Linked DNA regions of Homo sapiens: regions 1, 2, 3, 4 and 5 are each linked to region 6. Evidence: promoter capture Hi-C in 16 types of primary human blood cells and fetal thymus (Javierre and others, 2016). All regions are on one chromosome and are shown on one strand. The core of a region is centred on a gene start or on the middle of the fragment in contact, and the rest is flanking DNA. Distances in the headings are between cores, read along the strand shown. Region 1 has its middle 18 kb from the start of FAM3C. Region 2 overlaps FAM3C (FAM3 metabolism regulating signaling molecule C). Region 3 overlaps FAM3C (FAM3 metabolism regulating signaling molecule C). Region 4 overlaps FAM3C (FAM3 metabolism regulating signaling molecule C). Region 5 has its middle 46 kb from the start of FAM3C. Region 6 holds the start of ING3 (inhibitor of growth family member 3).

Region 1 (3,606 bases), core at 516-3,015, 460 kb after region 6:
AACTGGGAAGAACTGAGGGTAAAGTGGGTCCCAAAATGGTAGGTTCCAGGGTAGGAGGCTTTGCTAAACTTTGCAAGTTCAGAAATAGAGATCAAGACCCATACATGGAAGAGATCTAATTGAAAATGAAGGAGGAAGGGTGGCTCAGGGAAAGAGTCTTCTGGGTCCTGAAGGAAGGTGAACTTGTCATTGGCCTAAGCGTGTATTAAGGGAAGAGTAAATACAAATTTATATCATCTTCTGGACTCTAATTCTACTCTTGGTTTACACAGTTATAATTTTTTGAAAGGCAATGGATTAAGCTAACACAATATATCTTTTTAACCCTCAGAAATCAAAATGGAGAGGGATTTTATAATATCACAAAACATTAGATTTTAGTAACAAACAGAAAAAAGAATTGTTATCTCATAGCTCGTGTCTTCTTATGAGGAAAAATGAAATTAAGTTTAAAGTATATAACCAATCAGAAGGTTTACTCTGCTATAAACTATGCTAATTTATTGGAATTGCTTGAAGTTATGATTTTTATAAGCTTTGTTTTCTGCTTCCATATGGAAGAAATAAAAAAAGAAGGGGGGAAAGAGAGGTTAATAACACCTACAGTTTCCTTTTAGTAATAAATTTCAGTTCACTGATAAAATATTTCAACACATACAGACACACACAGACACACGCACACACACACACATATCTTTTTTTTAAACACAAACTGCAGCAGGGAAATTGGAATGATGACCTCCACTTTATCGAAACCTGAGGATGGCACTGTCCCTGCTGACCTGAATTTCTGTTCTTTAAAGTTGAAATCCAAGAAAAACTCCAAAATAAGCAATTAACCTTTTTTTTGTATTGTTTCCAGTAGTCCCTTAATAAAATACAAATATGTGCTGAGAAATATCACCACTAAAGTGTCATTTAAAGTAATTTGTCAGATTTGTTTTAACCATATTATACACAAAAGAGCAAATTCACATCAAAATAGATGGAAAATAGCAGTATGGTGGTGAGGTGTTTTAATTAGATATCTCCAAAAAAGTTAAGAATCAACCTGTGTAAATGTAATCGATGCTGATATAAATTTATTTATATCCATTCTATATCTATATTTATCTCTATCTCTATCTCTTTTCTTTTTGCCTGAAAGGAAAAGTATAGCAGGAGTCACAAAGGAAGACTAAAAGCTACCTTACCATCTATTTTAAAGAGTTTGAAGGAATATCACAGACATAGTCATAGCCTGCATCCCCACTGCCCATCCTAATTTGTGTGTGTGTGTGTGTGCATTGCCTCCTATGCCTAATATTTATTTTTTGCCCTACATTTTATATATATATATACATATATATATATATATATATATAAAATGCCTTATTAATAGATTCAGGTGGCTTCTGTAACAAAGCACTGTGAACTTAGTGGCTGAATACAAAGGTTTCTTCCCTCTGGAGGGCAGAAGTCTGAAGTCAATGTATTGACAGGCTTGGGCCCTCTTGGGGCTCTAGGAGAGAATGTTTCCTTACTTCTTTCAGCTCCAGGTGACTGGGGGCATTCCTTGGCTCCCTTGGCTTATGGCCACATCACTCCAACCTCTGTCTCTGTCTTCCCATTGCCTCTTCTCTGTGTTTGCCTTCTCATCTGTGTGCTTCTTGTAAGGACATTTACAACTGGATTTACAAGGTAATCCAGGATCATCTCCTCATCTCAAAGTCCTTAATTTAATTACATCTGCAAATACCCTTTTTAGAAATAAGGCAACAGTCACAGAGTCTGGGGATTACGATGTGGATGTATCTTTGAAAGAGTCATCATGAACCCATCACATTAACCCATCACACCTTAATAACCATTAAAGTTTCATTTCATAGAGAAATCCTGATATTTATGTCAAGTATCTCAATGTCAAACTTTTCATGTTAGAAAAACTCTTCCAACCTATAGTCAAGGTCTACTTTTCATAGAGTTTATCAGCAGCTAGGCCTTCCTCACCTCAGGCTTTAGTCCAGTGACTTCTCAAATTTGTGGCTACTATTTGTTAGTATGCTAAGGTTGCTACAACAGAGTATCATAGACAGGGTGGATTATACACAACAGATGTTTATTTCTCTGGAGGCTAGAAGTCTGAGATTAAGGTACCAGTGGTGTCAGGTTCTGTTGAGGGTCTTCTTCTGGGTTGCAAACTGCCAACTTCTCCTTGTATCCTCACATATAGAGAAGAAGATGAGAGCGTTCCCTAGGGCCTCTTTTATAAGGGCACTAATCTCATTTACAACAGCTACATTCTCATGACCTAACTACTTCCCAAGTCCCTCCTTCTAATACTATCTCACTGCAGGTTAGGTTTACAACATATGGGAACTTGAGGGGACATATTCAGTCTGTTGCAATTTTTTTTAATCTTTCCTTCTAGAAACATTCCTGTTCTTGAAAAATACAGATCCATAGTGTCTTTGCTTGCTATTGCTCTCAGTACCTACAGCTGAGTTCATAGTGCCCACTTTAGCTAGATTTAGGCTGCTTAGCCCATAATCTTCTGCTTTCATTTTGTTAGAAAACCTTTTTGACAAATCTATTATAATTCAATTATAATAAACACAATAATCATTTTTCTCAAAAAATATTGTGATCACTAATTATTAGATTTTTCAATGCTTTTAGCAATTTTTCTTCTGGTATTATCAACTAGAAGCCATCCTGAACACACACACACACACACACACACACACACACACACACACACATGAGTTCGCTTCCACATGTCTTTCTGATGTACTTATACCAGTGGTATTTTTCATTTAGTTTCAATCTTCCCAATTTATCAAGGTAAAACATTAAAACACAATACTAAAAGGAATTAAATCAGTATTTAGTATTTATGAGTATGTAAGCAATGTTTGAATCTGAACCAAATGTATTTTCTTTCTTTTTAAATTTTCCTCCTAGTTTTTTTAAAAAAATTGATTAGTTTTCTATATATTTATCACTATTTCATTTCCAAGCTTCCCTAGAGAAATGTAAACCTCTAGCTTACCAACACATCATATAATGTATCATTTTCAATTTTTAAAATCAATCTTTAGACCGGGTGCGGTGGCTCACCCCTGTAATCCCAGCACTTTGGGAGGCTGAGGTGGGCGGATCACGAGGTCAGGAGATCAAGACCATCCTGGCTAACATGGTGAAACCTCGTCTCTACTAAAAATACCAAAAAATTAGCCCAGCGTGGTGGCAGGCACCTGCAGCCCCAGCTACTCGGGAGGCTGAGGCAGGAGAATGGCGTGAACCCGGGAGACGGAGCTTGTAGTGAGCTGAGATCATGCCATTGCACTCCAGCCTGGGCGACAGAGCGAGACTCCATCTCAAAACAAAACAAAACAAAAAACAAAAACAAACAAACAAACAATAAAATCAATCTTTAATAGACTTTGTTTTTTAGAGTTGTTTTAGGTTCATAGTAAAACTGAAAGGAAAATACAGAGTCCCCATATATCCCCATCCCCAACACATGCACAAGATCCCTCATTATCAACATCCCACAATACAGTTATAATTGATGAATTTACAATAATACATCATCACCCCAAACACATAGTTAATATTTGGGTT
Region 2 (3,708 bases), core at 543-3,042, 420 kb after region 6:
GCTATAAAATTATCTCTTTATTCTATATAATTCGTGACAAATTTATTATTTTATATTAAATTTAAATAAGCCCCCATGTCTAGTTTTCTAGGCAATAGCATATTAAAAGCAACCAACTAAAAGTAGGATTTGCAATTTCAGCAGCAGGAACTTGCGAGCAACAGTTGACACTGAGGTAGGATATCAAAAATCCTAAAAACCATCCTTTAGAAAGCATCTCAACATAGGAAACCATTCAGCTTAGAGGCAAGCAGTTTGTGCTGCAATGGAACTGAGGTTATCACTGGATCATTTCACACTTCAACAAGTAGCACTCAAATATTTTAAATGAAAGACGTTGGATTTCATTTAAAATAAAGAGAACACATTCATTGTCCAGGGCAATGTTGCAAATAGGATTTCTGCCACGATGAAAATGCTCTCTCTGCTGTTCCATTTGGTGACCATGAACCACATGTGGCCACTGAACACCTGAACTGCGGTGACAGATACCAAGGAACTGAACTTTTTAGTTAATTTAAGTGAATTAACTTTCTTCCTAATATTTAAGGATCAAAATTAAATAGCCACATGTGTTCTGTTGCTAGCAAATGGGACAGTGCAGATCTAGAGAATTTACTCAGAGGAAATCTCTTATCTCTATAAAGCCGAATAAGTGTTACGTTCTTAGTCACTCTCTAATATAAAATTTAAGAACTTTAAGGTCCCTTGAATTCATGAGAAAAAAACTACATAACAAAAATGGAAATCACTTTCCATTAATAAAGTATACCGAACACATTTTCAAAATATCCATTAAACTCAGGTTCAATTGGCTGCAATTTAATAGCACACCTTATCGTCTCAAGTCAACAAAGACTTACACATTATCTTCCAGGCAGATTTTGGGTCCCACCACGTTGGCTGCTCCACTTGCCATTTTAAAAGCAAAATGCTTCTCAGGGCAAGCTTTTGAGATCCCACACTTATATCTGGGAGGCTTTGTAGCTTTGGGGGAGAAAACATGATGTCTTTTTTTAGAAAACAAGTTAACAGACTTTACCTCACTTTACTTCAAATCTCAAACCACAAAGAGCATTAAGAAAAACATCAAGATACACGTATCTTAAAATACAAGCTAATTTGTTCCCCTGAGGGTTTCAAAGAACCTCAAAAAATTTTTTTAAAAAAAAACAGCAACAAAGAAACCCACAACAGACACCAGATCTTCCTAGGAAACAAACTAATAATGGATGCAAATGAGTCAAGTAATATGATCTGCATTAGGGCAAATATATTTTATCTAACTATGAGTTTATTTTTAAATTTTAGGATGTGGGGGGTTCTGAATGTTACTTTGCACTTCTAGTCCATATATGCACAAAAAATCGTCACCTCCAGGATAATTAAAAAAGGCCTAATGTTCCATTGACTACCTTGCCCATGTACACTCTTAACTCCTTCTCACACCAATTTCTGTACTTATAATAACGGAGCTAAAAAACACAAAATATCCATCATGAATAATTGCCAAAAATATTTGGGCTGTCCAATCAAATAGCATCCTCATAACTTTAAAAAGCAATTTCTAAAGCAGTTTTTCCTCATACTGAACTACTGACACTTTGAATATAAGCTCTCATATGCCTAAGGCAGAATAAATCATACATAAAATATTGAGATGAAATACTTACAACGTGCAGCTGTGTCCAATGCTGATCTTGCTGAAAAAAAAAAATTACTTTTGTTAGAAGGAATGAGTCTATTGGCAAGTATCCACTTTTAAAATATATTTAGGTCCACAAAAATAAGTGTTCAAATAATGATTCAGTATACAATAAAACATGAATATCACTTAAGAAAAAGTGAGAAAGTAACTTCACACTGTACATTCATTATAAACTATTAAATAATTATGGAGGATAGTATTTTACTACTGATAAAACATTTTATTTTTCCCTTACCATTTTGTTTTGAATTTTAGTTACTATATATTTAAATTTCAATCAGGAAGTTACTCTACAAACTTACCTTTCAATGTTTATAAATATAAATTTGGTGAATATGATGGTGTTTAAAAGTTGTTGCTGCTGTATGGTGTTGTACAGATACGCAAAGAAAGCCCCAGAGAATATACATGAATCTATCTTAGTGGTGAGGTTAGGAGATTGCGAGGGCCAGGGAGGGGGATGAGGAAGATCATTACTAAAAGATTTACAATTTATCAGTTCAAGGAATCCATGAGGTCAAATCTTAATTTGAATGTAGTAGTTCTCAACCTGACCATCTATCATAATTATAGTAGGGCTTTTTAAAAGCACTAACATCTGATCCCAGCCCAGGAGATTATAACTCAGATCATCAGAGTATTGTGGACAGCCATTTCCTGATTTGACTAATAAGTATGCAGTGTGATAAATGTTAACCAGCTGTCTTGCTATAAATAGTCACACAGTTTTTAGTTCTGTACTATTTTAGATAATTGTGAACTTCCTGTAGGTCCAATACTCCAACTAGTAAGCTGAAAGTTAAAAGATTGTATTGAAATGTTTAAAAAGAGGAAAATGACCAAGTAAATAAAAGCTCATTAACTCAATAGAACACTCAGTAGAATATTATGCACCATTAAAGCCATAAAGGTAATATAATAACATTGAAAAAGCTTAATGCCCAGAACAAAGCAGAAAAGAAACCTTATCTACACTTTACTGGGATATAATTTTGGGAAAATCAGTTTTTTAAGTATTTTAAGTACTTAAAGTCAGGATTTTAACTACTTAAAATCAGGATTTTAAGTAAATAACATCACCTCCATTTAATTTGTGTAACAGTAAGGGGAGTAGATACTTTAAGGTGAAGAAACTCCTGTGAAAGACTTTTCTTTCCAGAAGAAAGCTCATTTTTATCCAATACACATCAAAATCAAAAGCCCTGTACTAAGTCTGCAATTCTGAAAACATTAGCACCTGGTGGCCAAACAGGTACATTAGTTTTCATAAACAGCTGTCCAAGTATAGAATACAGGTACAACATACAAACACCAAAATCCCTCCTCTCCTACAACTATTTTCCCCTCAAACTACACTGATAGCTTCAATGCTTAATTTCTTTCTGCATATACACTTCATTTCATGGAACAATAATAAACATTTGTTATTGCATTTCATCAATGAATGTCCTTCAGTAAGTCGGGCTAATGAATCAGAACTATTTTGCACTTTAGTTGTTAATAATGTCTCAAGTAATTTATGTATATACTATATACCAATGGTTTAAATCTGAAAAGGTAAAAATAAATAAATTCAATAGAACATTAAGTATTTATGGCCGGGTGCAGTGGCTCACGCCTGTAATCCCAGCACTTTGAGAGGCTGAGGCGGGTGGATCATGAGGTCAGGAGATCGAGACCATCCTGGCTAACACGGTGAAACCCCATCTCTACTACAAATACAAAAAAAAAAAATTAGCCGGGCGTGGTGGTGGGCAGGGAGAATGGCGTGAACCCGCGAGGTGGAGCTTGTGGTGAGCCGAGATTGTGCCACTGCTCTCCAGCCTGGGCGACAGAGCAAGACTCCGTCTCAAAAAAAAAAAAGAAAAAAAAAAAGAACATTAAGTACTTATTGCAGCAATATAGACAAAAATAATTTGGACTGTGTTCAGTTCACTTACTAGCTAAGTATTCAAACTGAAAACAACACTACATTACACCACAATGCTGAATAAGATTGG
Region 3 (3,602 bases), core at 485-2,984, 400 kb after region 6:
ACAACAATAAACAGAGGGAACTGTATGCTAATACTGGTTCACTGGGATATTAACACAAAACATGAGACAAAATGAGACTTTAAATAACAGAACATTTTGGAAAATAATTTTTTTTCAGAGTTACATTTCTACTGGTTGAATTCTTTAGTGACAAAAGACATGAACTCCAACAATTAATTTTAAGTTTATTCTATTAAAAGGACCTGTTAGGTTTTTATTTCACAACAATTCACCTTCATTTAACTTTTTAAATTACACTCATCAAATAAATAAGGGATACCACAGTTAGTAGATGCCTATCCAGGCTATCCAAGGTCTTAAGCAATCAATATTTTTATAAAATTAATCTTTTTGAATCTCCACTAAACCCTCTGTAAATTACATTTGACCAGAATAAAGGTAAATGCTGACAAAAATCTGTATGTTTCTAACACTATGTTTTATTTAAAAGAAAATGAATTTTGAGAACAGATATATAAATTGTACTTCAGTGATAACTGCCAAGTGGTTACTTAATAAAAATGAAAATATTAACCACACAGCAGCTAAATGCCTACTAGCAGGAGGTGGAGCAGTGACAGAAGTCAACCACCAGGGAAACTACTAATTGAAAGATGTCCCTAAAAAATTTTGTGTAAGTGATCATCCTAATGGTCAATGATTTTCTCTCCTTTATCTCTAAGGAGAAAAGAAACTCAGAACATAAATGGTAGCTATAGAGCTTAAAAAAAGAAGAAGAAGAAAAAATTAAGGGCTACTTGTACACATATTTGGCATTGAGTCCTATATACTGCGCAAAAGACAGCTCTAACAGGTCACTTAGAGAGGTTTGTTCTGCTAAAACCTGAGGCAAGGCAAGTTTATATTTCCAAACAGCAGGAAAGTCAGTGAGGAAGGTACTTATTCATTCTACAGTGTTCTTTCAAACCTCTCATGCTAGTATCAAGTAGCTCCTTTAATATCTTAGTGAAAGAAACACTACATAGAACAGTTCTCATTTAACTAAAGAAAAAGGGATACTCTTATGGTTTTTTTAAAAAAGCTTCATAAAACAGGAAAGAACTACATATATCATTAAACTTTCATGATTGATGCCCACCACATCCGTGGGGGCTGTGGAGCTGTTTTGGCCACAGCCTGGGCACTGCTGTCCACCTGGAGGAAGTTCACTAGAATCAGCAAGAAAATAAGCCATAGCCTGTGGAGCATTTAGCCTTTCAGATTCGCCTCCTATATTAAGTGGTACATTTATAGCCAAGTGAACTAAAAAGAAGTGAAATGACTGTGCAGAAGAACCAATCTCAGCCTCTGTGAAGATTGTGAGGCCTTCACATGAAATCTGTGCATATGCACTGGCTTTCCCTCCACAGTTCCTCTGCAGCTTCGTTTCCTGTGCCCATCCTTACATGAATTATCCATCACTTTCCACTTGTTTGCTCACTTGATAACCAACTTTGGTGCTAGAGGGAAATGCCCCAAAATTATCACCTGAACCTTGTTTTCTTGTTTCCAAATGTTATTGGGATGCCATGGATCTAAAAGGCTGTCAAATTCCACTTGCGTAGTTTATCCAAATGTTCTATTTTCTAACTACCTTATGGAAGTCTACACTTGCATCATCAGCACTAGCGATGAGTTTTGCTGCTGTAACAAGAATAAATAGTATTGAAATGTCTAGAGCACAGGCAGTAGGCTCAGTGGTCAGCTAAATGGACTGCCTCCTGCAGAGAGGCTTTGGGGTTCCATTCACATTTACATCTCAAAAAAATTATGAATTGATACCTCACAGGCCTTTAGGGTGGCTCATAAACAGCTGAAATGATGAATGTGAAGTTCACAAATGTTAAGAGATTGCTTTACACAGGAAAAATTCCCTGCAAAATAGAAGGTTATCCAAACGCAGGTCCAGCTCCCTGCCAAAAGTAAAATCTTATCCAAGAATTTTGCACCAACTAAGAAATATGTTGAAGGGCAGTCAGGCATTCTTATTTTTGTACTCCTGAATTTCAGAAGTGACCATTATGATCTGTATGAATAAACCAAGCTGATTTACAATCAAGCCAGAGATCAAGGAGAAACTTAAAGATTGAGCTTTATGTTTTAACTCCATTAATCTTATTCCTTGCTTTTCCATTAGAAGATACTGAGATCCTGTGCAGATATGCATTAACATAGCAGGCCTGAGCTTAGAAAGGCCTACTAGCAAGACTGACCCTTGGCTATCTGGCCACTTGGATTTGCGGAGGGCTCCTATCATTTTCAAAACTGATAAGAATGGTTCATTGTGTCTAAACTGTGGGCAAAAACAATGCAATTTATGCTGAACACTTGTTTTCTCTCTGGGAGTCTGGTATTTTGCAACAGGTTAGGCAGAGGGTGCCTACATGACCAGCCCCTAATAAAATCTCTGGGCATTGAGTCCCTAATAAGCTTCCTTGCAGACAACATTTCCCATGTGTTGTCCTAACTGGTTGCTGGAAGAATTAAGCATGTCCTGTTTGACTCCACTTGGGAGAAGACTCCTTTGTCCCTCCAGACTTTGTCCCATGAACCTTTTCCCTTTGCTCATTTTGCTTTGTGTATTTTTGCTTTAACAAATCACAACCATGAGACCTACTGGAGAACTGTCAAAACTGGGAGTGGTTTGGGGGACGTCTAACACATAGCCCTGTGTATATCTAACTACAGTTTTATAACAAGATGACTTTGTCAATGACTTCTAACACTTTCTGATCTGCCTATGTAGAATTTGGTTGATTATTTTATTATTATTTTTAGATATCTTCTGTGTAACTAAGTAAAAAAAATCTTTATATTTCAAAAGTTTAAAATCATGTAACATAGCCAGTATTTAATTGAATATACAGGAAATGTCAAAATGCCCCTTTTTTAAAAAAGCCAGGGCAGCAAATATATTTTTATATAGCATAAAGGTTGGAGATACAAGCTTTTTATTCCACATAGGGCACTCTGAGTTTGTTACATATATTTTAATCCTTACTAATGGTCTTAACTAGCTGAGTTAAAAATTTATGTCAAATATATTATTTTAGTGAATAATTTTCTTCAAAATGAACAGAAAATTATCCTGTGATAAACCAGGATAGACAGAGAACGGTATCAGGTTTTGCTAGAAGACAATCTAATGCTGCCCAGAGGCAATCTAAACTAGAAAGGGAGGAAGTGGGAACTGGACACAGGAATCTGTGGGTTCTGCCTCAATCCTTGCTGGGAAAGGAGGCACATCGGATAGTCCTACAGTTGCACCATCAAACCAAGCCAATGCTGCCTTTCTGGAAGCACAGAAAGCAAGACGGACAATATTAATGGCTCAATTCTGATTAATAGGGAAGAACAAGCTGGGAAGGAGAAAGTCTGGAAGAAAATCGCCATATTACCTCAGGGCGTTGAAGAGTAAGAAATGCTAACTATATAAGGCATAAATGACGACCCAGCCTAGACTTTAAAGAGAACATATTATACAAAGTTCGGATTAGAAATTTTTATGAGGGAATACGACTCTTTACAAACAAACAGAAAAACTCTATAATTTTCACTATATAATTGCTAACACTTCCAGAAAAAAATGGAGCATAGTTTCT
Region 4 (3,647 bases), core at 1,111-3,610, 440 kb after region 6:
TCAACCTGCCACCAGAATGGGTCTTCAGTTTTGGTGGGCAACAGATAAATCCAGAGAAAATGTGGTGAGGAATAAATAATCAAGAACTCCTGTTTGCAGGGGTTAAACCAGAGTACTAGATTTAATATTACTCAAATGTTTTCTTGCAGTTTTTATTATCTACCAAAGCAGAATTTTGCTTAAAAAGTTATAATCCACTTAACGAAATGAAATGGTGACTGGATTTCTGCAACCAAGACCACAAACATACCCAAAACAGAAAACAAGACAGAACTCTACAAAATGACATTCAGTTTTGCCTGCTATGAGTTCTACAATTGTTTAAACACTTGTGATCTAAGCTACCTTAATCCTATAGTACACCATCCAGGGAGAGATGGATAGATGAATGAATGGATGGACAGAAAGAAATAGCTATTCTTAGAAACAATGACAACAATAAAATGAAATATATTAACTGTTAGAGGTTGAACATAAATGGGGTAATGAAGTGTCCCACTCATAAACTGCTAAAATGAGATTAGAGAAAGGTACACATTTACATACAGTAGAACTGCTATCTTCATCTCATGTAACTATCTCACATTGTACTAGATGAGAAGTTATAGGTTCCTGTTCTACGTGTTTAAGAATTCCCTTAGGTATCCACTCTACTTATGCTGTTTTGAAGTAGTCTGCAGAATTTAAGTGCACCAGGGTAGACATAATTCCATCAGTCACACCCTCCAAATGAAGACATGGAGAAACAGAATGGTTCCATCGCCCAAGGGTCCTGGATGAAATGCAGTATTGGCACACCATTTGTACCACAAAAACTGAATGAGAATTAGCACTGCTGAAGTAAATTAAAATGGAAACCATGCCTGAAGAATCCCCGAGCAGACAAAACCAATTAGGCCTCATAAGTGACATCAACCTCACTTGATTTGCAAACATAAGCAAAATATGAAGTTACTTCTTATAAATGCCTATGCTAAAGAAAAAGAGAACTTAAGCTTAATCAATCAGAAACATCCAACAAACTTCTAATTACATATCTAGGGGACCTTCCAACACGACAGACCAAATAAAACAACTGTATAACTGCAGCCAATCAAATATTTTCTTTGCTTTACATCTGTGACCCTCCTATAAAAGCCTCCCTCCTGGATTCCCCTGGTGGAGCTCCCAGATCTGGTTTGGAGCTGCTCAATTCATGAATTGTTTGTTCAAATAAACTCTAAAGATGCTTCTATTGTAAAATTTTGTGAAAACGTATTGTATTAGTCCGTTTTTGCACTGTTATAAAGAAATACCCAAGACTGGGTAACCTATAAAGGAAAGAAGTTTAACTGACTCACAGTCCCACATGGCTGGGGAGGTGTCAGGAAACTTACAATCATGGAGGAAGGCTAAGGGGAAACAGACACCTTTTTCACAAGGCAGCAGGAGAGAGAAGAGAGAGAGTGCAGGAAAAACTTCCATTTGTAAAACCATCAGATCTTGTAAGAACTCACTGTCACGAGAACAACATGGGGGAAGCCGCCCTCATGATGCAATCACTTCCCTCCCTCGACACACAGGGATTACAATTTGAGATGAGATTTGAGTGGGGACGCAGAACCAAACCACACCACGTATCAACTGAACCAACTTAAAAATCCATTTTTGTTGACCTTGCGTCTTTCAAAACTCATTTAACAATCACTTAACTGCAAGTAATGAATGATATGTTAGGTAGCACACCTGACACCATAACACTACCTTAGCAAGCCTTGTAGAGATTATGACGAAAATCAATTTAGAGATGTTCATATAACTTTCTGAATAGCACACAAAAATTTAACAAATGAATAAACAAAATGCAGTACGTATCAACGAAATGATATATATGTAATGTGGTGTATATGAATGGAATATAGAATGGAATATTACTCACCCTTAAAAAGGAATGAAGTACTGATACCTGCTGATTTAGAGGACGAACCTCTAAAACATGCTAAGTGAAAGAAGCCAGACACAAAAGAACACATATTGAATTATTCAATTTTTAGGAAAATCCAGAATAGATAAATTTATGGGGGCAGAAAGCAGATCAGTGGTTGCCGAGGATTGGCAGGGAGAAGGGAATGAACAACTGCTTAATGAATATGGGGTTTCCTTTTGGGGTGATGAAAATGTTTTAGAAACGTGACGGTTCATAACATCATGAACGTGCTAAATGCCACACTTTAAAATGGAAAATCTGGCTAGGCATAGGGGCTCATGTCTGTAATCCCAGAGCTTTGGGAGGCTGAGGTCGAAGGATCACCTGAGGGCAGATTTGGCCAGCCTGTGCAAAATAGTAAGATCCCGTCTTTTAAGAAAAAAAATTATAAAATTAGTCGTGTGTGGTGGCACATGCCTGTAAACCTAGCTACTCCACAGGCTAAGGTGGAGTTCAAGGCTACAGTGAGTTATGATCACACCACTGCACTCCAGTCTGCAGAACAGTGGGGTACCCTGTCTTTGTAAATAATTTAAAAATAAAATGAAAAATTCTGTTACAGGAATTTAATTTAAAAAAGAAAATTGGAAGAAAAAACTCACTGAAGTTAGAAAAATCATGAATAGCGGATTTTCAAAATTAGATTAAAAATAAGGGAAATATAAGAATAGCTTCAATCAAATGGAGCAGGCCAATGAAGAAGAAAAAGAATATTAATGGGTACACTGGAAAGACTTAGGGGTATTACAACACTTAATTTCCTCCTCTGAGAGGAAGTCAGCCGATTGTGTCTCAAAGAATTGCATTAAAAGAAAGTACAAAACCTTTTAAAAGTTCAAAGATTTTGGGAAATTACCTGGTTCAGTCTACTCAATCAGATTAAAAAGGACTGCATGATATTAAGTAATTTAGTCAATGCCACTCTTGAAATAACTAAATACAGAATCAATGCTTCAAATCCTGATCATCTGATCCCAAGAACAGAGACGCTTCTGGACTAAATTCAAGACAAACTTTTGCTATTATACCAAGGTCGCACAAAAATCTATCTAGCTCAGCGCTAACATAAAAATCTTTTGCTATTTGGGTCTTGCACCTTTCAGCTTTAAGAAATGGGCATAAAAATAAAAATAAAAAAGATTCCCTGCTTTAGAGAAAATAAAGTAGCTTTGTGAGTGCCCAGGCTGTCTTATTCATAGTATCCATGATATCTACAATTACTGGTACATGGTAGGCACTCCAGTATTTTTAAGAGTATAAAAATTTTTGAAAAATGAATCGTTCAAAACCTAAAATATATGGTGGAAAATATATGAGTCTTCTGATACCCCCTCAGGGAACATTACTTTTTGCCATTCCATAGCCTCTTAGCCTTTTGGCTGTCTTTTCCAATTTCCTTTTCCTTTTTAATGTATCTTCATAAATTATGAAAGATTAGTTGACAATGCTTAAGGCAGCAATCCACATTAAAAATCTGTAATTGTAATAAAACATCCATTAAGTTTATTTTTAAAGTCACTTTAAGCCAGTAGTGTCTTATTTTTACTCCCTTTTGAAACAGAAGCCCCTTACAATGAGGATTTTGAGGAACCTGTCCTGTGTCCCTCTTACAAAGTTCCCATTGGTAATTCAGAGAGGTCCTCAGGTTGAGAACTGCTGGACTGAACTCCTTTTATTGGCT
Region 5 (4,082 bases), core at 96-2,595, 490 kb after region 6:
CAAACAAACTTACAAGAAAAAAACAACCCCATCAAAAAGTGGGTGAAGTATATGAACAGACACTTCTCAAAAGAAGACATTTACACAGCCAACAGACACTTGAAAAAATGCTCATCATCACTGGCCATCAGAGAAATGCAAATCAAAACCACAATGAGATACCGTCTCACACCATTAGAATGGCGATCATTAAAAAGTCAGGAAACAGGTGCTGGAGAGGATGTGGAGAAATAGGAACACTTTTACACTGTTGGTGGGACTGTAAACTAGTTCAACCATTGTGGAAGACAGCATGGCGATTCCTCAAGAATCTAGAACTAGAAATACCATTTGACCCAGCAATCCCATTACTGGGTATATACCCAAAGGATTATAACTCATGCTGCTATCAAGACACATGCACACGTATGTTTATTGTGGCACTATTCACAATAGCAAAGACCTGGAACCAACCCAAAAGTCCATCAGTGATAGACTGGATTAAGAAAATGTGGCACATACACACCATGGAATACTATGTAGCTATAAAAAATGATGAGTTCATGTCCTTTGTAGGGACATGGATGAAGCTGGAAACCATCATTCTCAGCAAACTGTCGCAAGGACAAAAAACCAAACACCGCATGTTCTCACTCATAGGTGGGAATGGAACAATGAGAACACTTGGACACAGGAAGGGGAACATCACACACTGGGGCCTGTCGTGGGATGGGGGGAGGGGGGAGGGATATCATTAGGAGATATACCTAATGTAAATGACGAATTAATGGGTGCAGCACACCAACATGGCACATGTATACATATGTAACAAACCTGCACATTGTGCACATGTACCCTAGAACTTAAAGTATAATAATAAAAAATTAAAAAAAAAGAAAAAAGAAGGTAGGATCCAGGGTTAGTTTTTGTAGCCTTGGCTGGCCCCTTGGCCTCTGGCATACTCGAACTTCCGGCCCTTGGAGCGGACGTAGGGTTTGGTGTGGCTGTGTGGGGTTCCCAGGGCCTTGTCGAAATGCCAGTACACCTCTCGACCCTTGCGAGGACCTGAGAGCAGGACGGTGCCGCAGACCTTGGGGGAGTCCAGGGCCAGCTGGTCGAAAGTGAGGTTCTTGCCCCCCACCCTGAAGATGTGGCTGCGGGCCCGGCTGGTCACGCCCAGTGCACACACCTTCAGTTTGGGCACCTCCTGAACCCACACGTCATCTGTTATGGTTCCCACAACCACGGCCGTTTTGTTTTCCTGGCCAGGAAGCTTCATTTTCGGGATCATCCGGGAAAGGGACAGAGGTGGCTGGTTGGTGCACTCATAAACAACCTCTTCAGCACTATTACTTTTTTTAAAGTGCCCTAAATATCCTTATCAGAGGGGTATTCTTACTTTCACTTTCTCTTTTTTTCCCCTCAGGGCTTTCTTGCCCTCTATTTAAATCTTTCTTCTAAAGCTTCTCTTCCAGTCCTAGGATCCCCAATTCTTTGTCTCCCTTGTCTTCCAAGGGAACATTTTTTTTTAACAATTCTTAATTATGCAAAGAATTTTATTTCTTCATTCTCTCAACCATTCCAATTCTAACTGAGCTCTAGGGCCTACCTACATTTAACTAAATGAAACTAAACAACAAAATCATCAGGATATGGCTGACCTATATTATGGAAGCAAGCTTGAGTCATCTTTTTTAATAGGAATTTTGTCTTCTTCCTACAAATGCATTGTTGCCAAAGAGAGTCATAGAGGGAAGGATTTTGCATAGGGAGAGATGAGCTTGGGATGGGTAGAATCAAAATTTCAGAGAGTTTTAAGGGGTGGGTAATGGGCTTTTGCACAAAATCGTAAAATAAAGAAAAAGAGAGAAGGGAGCTTTTCAGCTGAAGGTGGATAAGGTTTCTATTAGTCATCTGTGGGGAGAGATAGATGGATATTAAAAGGAGAGGACAGTTTACATATATAGAAATTTATAAAGGCCTAAATACAGACACAGGAAAGACAACCCACCTGTTTCTAGCATCCTAGGTAGCACATTTGTGTGGAGCCAATAAAAAAAGTGTACACAAATAAACCAATTATATTCAGGTATGTTTTGAAAGAGCCATGTTGACTGGCCTAAGATGTGGGAAAAAAGCCAGGGATTTTGTTCACAGTAAGTTCAATACAAACAAATCCAGTGATTTGCCAAAAGAGCTAACTAGTATCTTAGCCCGCATTAATGCAATTTCAGTCTCTTTAATAGTGTAGTGTTGTTCTACAGCACTTACCATGGGGAGTAAATGAAGCATTTCTAGCATGGTAATGAATCTATTGGTAGTACAGTCATTAATGAACTGTTTTTTGTTTTGTTTGTTTTGTTTTGTTTTTGACGGAATTTCGCTCTTGTTGCTTAGGCTGGAGTGCAATGGTGAGATCTCGGCTCACCACAACCTCCGCTTCCTGGTTTCAAGTGACTCTCCTGCTTCAGCCTCCTGAGTAGCTGGGATTACAGGTGCCTGCCACGACACCTGGCTAATTTTGTATTTTTAGTGGAGATGGGTTTCTCCATGTTGGTCAGGCTGGTCTGGAACTCCCGACCTCAGGTGATCCACCCACCTTGGCCTCCCAAAGTGCTAGGATTACAGGTGTGAGCCACTGTGCCCGGCCCTGGTTTATTTTTATTTTTATTTTTATTGTTTTTGGTTAAGTTTTTATTTGGTCATATTAAGACACAGTAAAGTTTTGCTTCTATAAAGTGAATAATCATTAATTTTTTTTTTTTTTTGTAATTCAAGGGAAAACTTAAGTTTGGTTGGTTAATTTTCCTTTTTCCCCTCTATATAGATGCTCTTAAGAGAATAATTGTAGTTAAAAAAACATAAGTAATTACACTTTTGGAAGCCAGCATGTTACATTACAGTTGTGCAGGGAGGATCAGAGGTAGAAACCCCAAGAAGCTACTGCAGGCCTGACTCCTTCTTCCCTTCCTTGCCCAGCCCCTCTAGTTTTGCCTGAGGGATGCAAGGTAAACTACATCAACAAAGGTCCAGGAACCACAACAATTCTGAGGTCACAAATCATCTAGGCCTGCAGGTGGATGCCCTAGATTGTAGGCATTGATGCCAAGGAAGGAAACCACCCTCTTAACACCTCACGATCTGTAGGGCATTGACAGCAGAGGCTTTTACTCCTCAGCCCCTCCCCTGAAAGGCCTTGATTAGGAAGGTAGCTGAGTCACCATAGAAAGGCCAAGTATGTGTAACACAGCCAATACTGAGAGTGAATTCTGATAGACAACCTTTCTCCGAATTATGTTTTATTTCTGTTTTTCTATATCCATATTGTTTTCTATATTTATTTTCATATATTCTATATTCAGAACATAGAATATGATTCTGAATATATAATTTTTAATATTTAATAGAGACATGGAGACATTAAATATTAAATATTAAATTTAATATTTAATAGAGATATATTTAATACAGACATGGAGAAACCCCATCTCTATTAAAAATTCTATATTCGGAATATAGAATACAATTGAGAATATAGAATAACACAATTCTATATTCGGAATACAGAAGAACGCAATTCTATATTCGGAATACAGAAGAACGCAATTCTATATTCGGAATACAGAAGAACGCAATTCTATATTCGGAATACAGAAGAACGCAATTCTATATTCGGAATACAGAAGAACGCAATTCTATATTCGGAATACAGAAGAACGCAATTCTATATTCGGAATACAGAAGAACGCAATTCTATATTCGGAATACAGAAGAACGCAATTCTATATTCGGAATACAGAAGAACGCAATTCTATATTCGGAATACAGAAGAACGCAATTCTATATTCGGAATACAGAAGAACGCAATTCTATATTCGGAATACAGAAGAACGCAATTCTATATTCGGAATACAGAAGAACGCAATTCTATATTCGGAATACAGAAGAACGCAATTCTATATTCGGAATACAGAAGAACGCAATTCTATATTCGGAATATAGAATATATTCCTATATTCTATATTCGGAATACAGAATTATATTCCTATATTCTGTATTCCGAATACAGATTTATATTCCTATATTCTGTATTCCGAATACAG
Region 6 (3,652 bases), core at 846-3,345:
TGCACAGAATAGGCCAGTAATGAAACATGTCTGTCTTGGCCTTGGAGCCCAGTAAAGAAAGAAAAAAAAATTCTCCTCTGAGAATCTGTAACAATCCATTTGGGATAGAGGCCCAAATTCAATCTATCTGTGCAATACAATAAACCTCAAGGGGACAATTTAATCTGGTCCTAGGGGTTTATGATGTCTCCAAACAAACTGACAAGCAAATTCTAATGCTCTCCATGAAAACTCAATTTCAACTCCAGCTCAAAGAATCCTTATGCTTGTAATCCCAGAAACAGGAATTCAGAGTCCAAAATCGCAACCCAACAGGAAAAAGCCACCATGAGTAAAAGTGCCCATTTCTGAAGAAATAGCACTAAAAGGCCCATAAATGTTTCAATATTAGGTTTAACAGAAACAAGATACAGACTAAATAATTTGTATAAGAAATTATAAGATGTCTTGAAAAGAGAACCGAATAGAACTTCCAAACCTGAAAAATTATGAAAATTCTAAAATAAAACATATAAAAGAAAGATTAAGATAAATAAGAGAATAAAGAGAGAAAGTCTTAATGGAAAAAATGAGAAATAAGCAATACTGAAAAGACAAACGCTGAGAATTTTCTAGAATTGTTGCAGGGCACCAATCCTGAAATTCAGGAATCCCCTCAAATCCTAAGCATAATTTTAAAATTTTAAGGAAAGAAAAGGGAATAAGGAAGGAATTCAGACTTAGATCACTACAAAACTGCAAAAAGATGTCAAAGAGATGTTAAAAGCAGCCAGAAGAAGGAAGGATGGGAAACGAAGAAAGGAGGAAAAAAAGAAGGGAGAAAAAGATCGAAAGTACTTGATTTTCGATGGAAGTAATGAAAAACTTAACTAGAAACTATAAAATTCTAATTCTTATTAGGATCGAAGTAAGGTTCCGTTGAGATTCATCATGATTCATCATTCACGACAGGAAAGTTTCCTGCTTAAGAGCAGTGAAAACCTTGAGTACAAGAGTATGTAATGGAGAAGGAAAGCAAGAAACACACACACACAGTTTCAACTGCAATTTGAAAAACAGAAAATGAACAATAAATTATGAACTAATGACAATTTCCCCAGAAAATCGAAAAGTTAAGAAGAGTGGAAAATAACAATATCTAGCATTTATTGAGTGCAAGAGTTTTTAATAAAAAACAATTTAAAAAGAAACTGAGTAGGGACGTACTAAATATATCACAGGAAAACATTTGCTGGGAGAGGTCGAAAAGTAGAAACTAAAGAACGCCGAAGACAACCAACCTCGAATATGGACTATTTACTCAACATAAAGTTACTGCTATTAACAGCCTATTAGAAATCAAGGCTGCATCCGTAATTCATGGCTGCTCACTGTGATGATGAAGATTATTATTATTATTATTTGCGGATGCAGATTGTATGTATAGATCAATTACATTAGAATGACGATTAGATGGACCGCAAACTAGAATATATAAGTGGCTACTGACACTATTTGTGCATCTTTTAATCTGGGAAATGTATATTCACTCCATAGTCTCAGTATAAACTATTTTAAAATTACACGTAAGCCAACCAGGTGTCTCTTTTATATTTTAGAGTGAATAATGAGGATAAATTCCAGTAGAGAGTTCTATTTTAAGCAATCCAAATTCCCCGAACTTTGCTGATTATTCTAGTGTTTAGAACCTTTGCTATTTGCCTGGCACTTCTTGAAACCCATAACTCACAAACGCCGGGGCATGGAATCACATCAAAGAACAGGTGAAAAGTTGTTCCTAGTTGTGTTATGCAGGTGCATACAACTCCCGCCATTCTCTGTGCAAAAATCAACAAATAAACAGAGGCACCGCATTTCGGATTCTGTTACGCACTGTTTGCAATGGCGCCCGGTATTCGTAGTTTCTGCGAGGGGAGCCGCCAGCGCGCCAACCCTCGCTGAGGAGGAAGAAAACTACATTTCCCACAGAGGCACGGGGGCGAACACCGGCCGGGCTACGTCATTGCTTGAACCAACCAATAGCAGCTCCGGGCGGCAGTGAGGCAAGCGCCTCAGGCGCCAAAGTGGTTTTTTTTTTTTTCTTTTTTTTTTTTTGCCGGAGTCGAGCGGGTGCTGCTAGCGGAGGCGCCATATTGGAGGGGACAAAACTCCGGCGACAGCGAGTGACACAAATAAACCCCTGGACCCCCTTGTTCCCTCAGCTCTAAGGGCCGCGATGTTGTACCTAGAAGACTATCTGGAAAGTGAGTGCGCGGCGCTGGCGGCGGCCGCCAGTGGGACGTGCGGGCGGGCAAGAGCGCGAGTGGACGGGCAGCGAGATGGCGGGAGGGAGGGGGCGGCGGGGGATGTTTCTTTCTCACGGTAACTGGCAGCCTCGTTGTGGGCTGCCGGCCCCCTCGACCCCCCTGACGCACGCGCGCAGTGACGTAAGCGCGTATTTCGCCGTTGGCCCCGCCCCTCTGACGGACTCTCCCTTTGACAGTGATTGAGCAGCTTCCTATGGATCTGCGGGACCGCTTCACGGAAATGCGCGAGATGGACCTGCAGGTGCAGAGTAAGTCGGCGCGTCTACTACTCCTGTTCGCTGCGCGCGTTCAGTGCCAGACTTGCTTGTCATCACTGCTAGCGCCTAGTGCTCTTTCACTGTCCTCTGGCTCACTCCGCTAGTGCATAAGGAGTTGTCAAAAAGAACTGGCAGCCCTGAATCTCGCCTTCCCCTTCCCTCCCATGCTACTTTTTTCTGGCTTTTGCAAGAGCAGGAGGCATTGGGACACGTGTATTCCTTTCTAGAATGTGGGATTGTGCAAAAAATATTTCTCTACCGTCATTGACATAGTTATCTATGTTTCAATGGACGTCAGCATAATAAATGTTGAGATGTCGTCTTGAGCCTTTTCGTATCGAACTTAGATTTCAGCATTTATACTTATTTTAAAGTTCATCCTATTCACAGTTTTTCAAGAGTGGAAAGCACAGAAGCAGAGGTTATATATAGCTCTTTAGAGACCATGGCAAATGTCAAATTTTGAAAACTTAGTTACACATTAGATACATTTTAAATTGTAACAGAATCGTCATTTTCTTGGTTAAAATGAGTGACAGAAATTAGATTTCACTGTAAAGTTTCTTATGTGCTGTACTAAAAATTTTAGCAGTTAATGAACATTTCTTTTTCTTTCAGTGATAGCTTGGTAGTCTCTAGGACTTTTTCCCCAAATTAACTTTGCTCTTTCATAGAGCAACGACTATAAATAGGTGGCTCAGGGACCACCTGCTGCAGCTAAGAACCTGTCCTTTTCACTGCTCCTGGCTTCTCTGCCCATGACCACACACCCACTTCTATACCCTTTGCTTATGAGTATATTTTTCCGGTAAGTTTCAGGTGGCACATAATAAAAAGTGGTGGCATGGAAGCCACTTTCTGTTCAGTGGATTGTGATATGAAGTATGAATTGTGTGTGTGGTTCTCCAGCTATCTCACAAATTCATTTTAATTTTAGTGTAGTTGAAATGCTGAAGATTTGCTGAAGTAGTGTTCTCTGCAGGACTGAGCACAGACATTGATGTCAGATCTGAGTTTGTTTTAGGGCTTTACTAATTTACTCATTGACTCTGACTGTATTATCACTTGTGAGGGGCTTACATTGTCTAT

Evidence for each region. Contacts are between HindIII fragments. The CHiCAGO score rates a contact against its expected background, and 5 or more counts as called.
Region 1: a contact is called between a fragment that was not itself captured here and the fragment with the promoter of ING3 in region 6, in 1 of 17 cell types (non-activated CD4 T cells). The highest score is 6.7, in non-activated CD4 T cells.
Region 2: a fragment that was not itself captured here is called in contact with the fragment with the promoter of ING3 in region 6 in 2 of 17 cell types (activated CD4 T cells and naive B cells); the score reaches 5.1 in activated CD4 T cells.
Region 3: a contact is called between a fragment that was not itself captured here and the fragment with the promoter of ING3 in region 6, in 4 of 17 cell types (naive B cells, naive CD8 T cells, total B cells and 1 more). The highest score is 7.8, in naive B cells.
Region 4: a fragment that was not itself captured here is called in contact with the fragment with the promoter of ING3 in region 6 in 9 of 17 cell types (naive CD8 T cells, total CD4 T cells, total CD8 T cells and 6 more); the score reaches 17.4 in naive CD8 T cells.
Region 5: a fragment that was not itself captured here is called in contact with the fragment with the promoter of ING3 in region 6 in 8 of 17 cell types (non-activated CD4 T cells, activated CD4 T cells, total CD8 T cells and 5 more); the score reaches 14.7 in non-activated CD4 T cells.

Annotation. Positions count from the first base shown.
Region 1 is chr7:121,412,356-121,415,961 of GRCh38, forward strand. No RefSeq gene overlaps it. Among named protein-coding and RNA genes, the nearest start is that of FAM3C, 18 kb to the left of the region's middle. The HindIII fragment of the contact is 2,464 bases long and covers 534-2,997 here.
Region 2 is chr7:121,370,437-121,374,144 of GRCh38, forward strand. It overlaps FAM3C (FAM3 metabolism regulating signaling molecule C), which reads right to left. Exons shown (of 10, transcript NM_014888.3): 4 at 1,674-1,703; 5 at 864-987. Among named protein-coding and RNA genes, the nearest start is that of FAM3C, 24 kb to the right of the region's middle. RefSeq lists an enhancer at 2,492-2,541. The HindIII fragment of the contact is 1,693 bases long and covers 947-2,639 here.
Region 3 is chr7:121,351,292-121,354,893 of GRCh38, forward strand. All of the region lies in intron 8 of FAM3C (FAM3 metabolism regulating signaling molecule C), which reads right to left. Among named protein-coding and RNA genes, the nearest start is that of WNT16, 24 kb to the left of the region's middle. The HindIII fragment of the contact is 1,388 bases long and covers 1,041-2,428 here.
Region 4 is chr7:121,390,950-121,394,596 of GRCh38, forward strand. All of the region lies in intron 1 of FAM3C (FAM3 metabolism regulating signaling molecule C), which reads right to left. Among named protein-coding and RNA genes, the nearest start is that of FAM3C, 3.5 kb to the right of the region's middle. The HindIII fragment of the contact is 2,734 bases long and covers 994-3,647 here.
Region 5 is chr7:121,439,936-121,444,017 of GRCh38, forward strand. It overlaps the pseudogene RPL18P4. Among named protein-coding and RNA genes, the nearest start is that of FAM3C, 46 kb to the left of the region's middle. The HindIII fragment of the contact is 190 bases long and covers 1,251-1,440 here.
Region 6 is chr7:120,948,682-120,952,333 of GRCh38, forward strand. ING3 (inhibitor of growth family member 3) reads left to right here and starts at 2,096. Exons shown (of 12, transcript NM_019071.3): 1 at 2,096-2,243; 2 at 2,483-2,554. The coding sequence starts at 2,216. RefSeq lists an enhancer at 2,639-2,718. The HindIII fragment of the contact is 9,487 bases long and covers 1-3,652 here.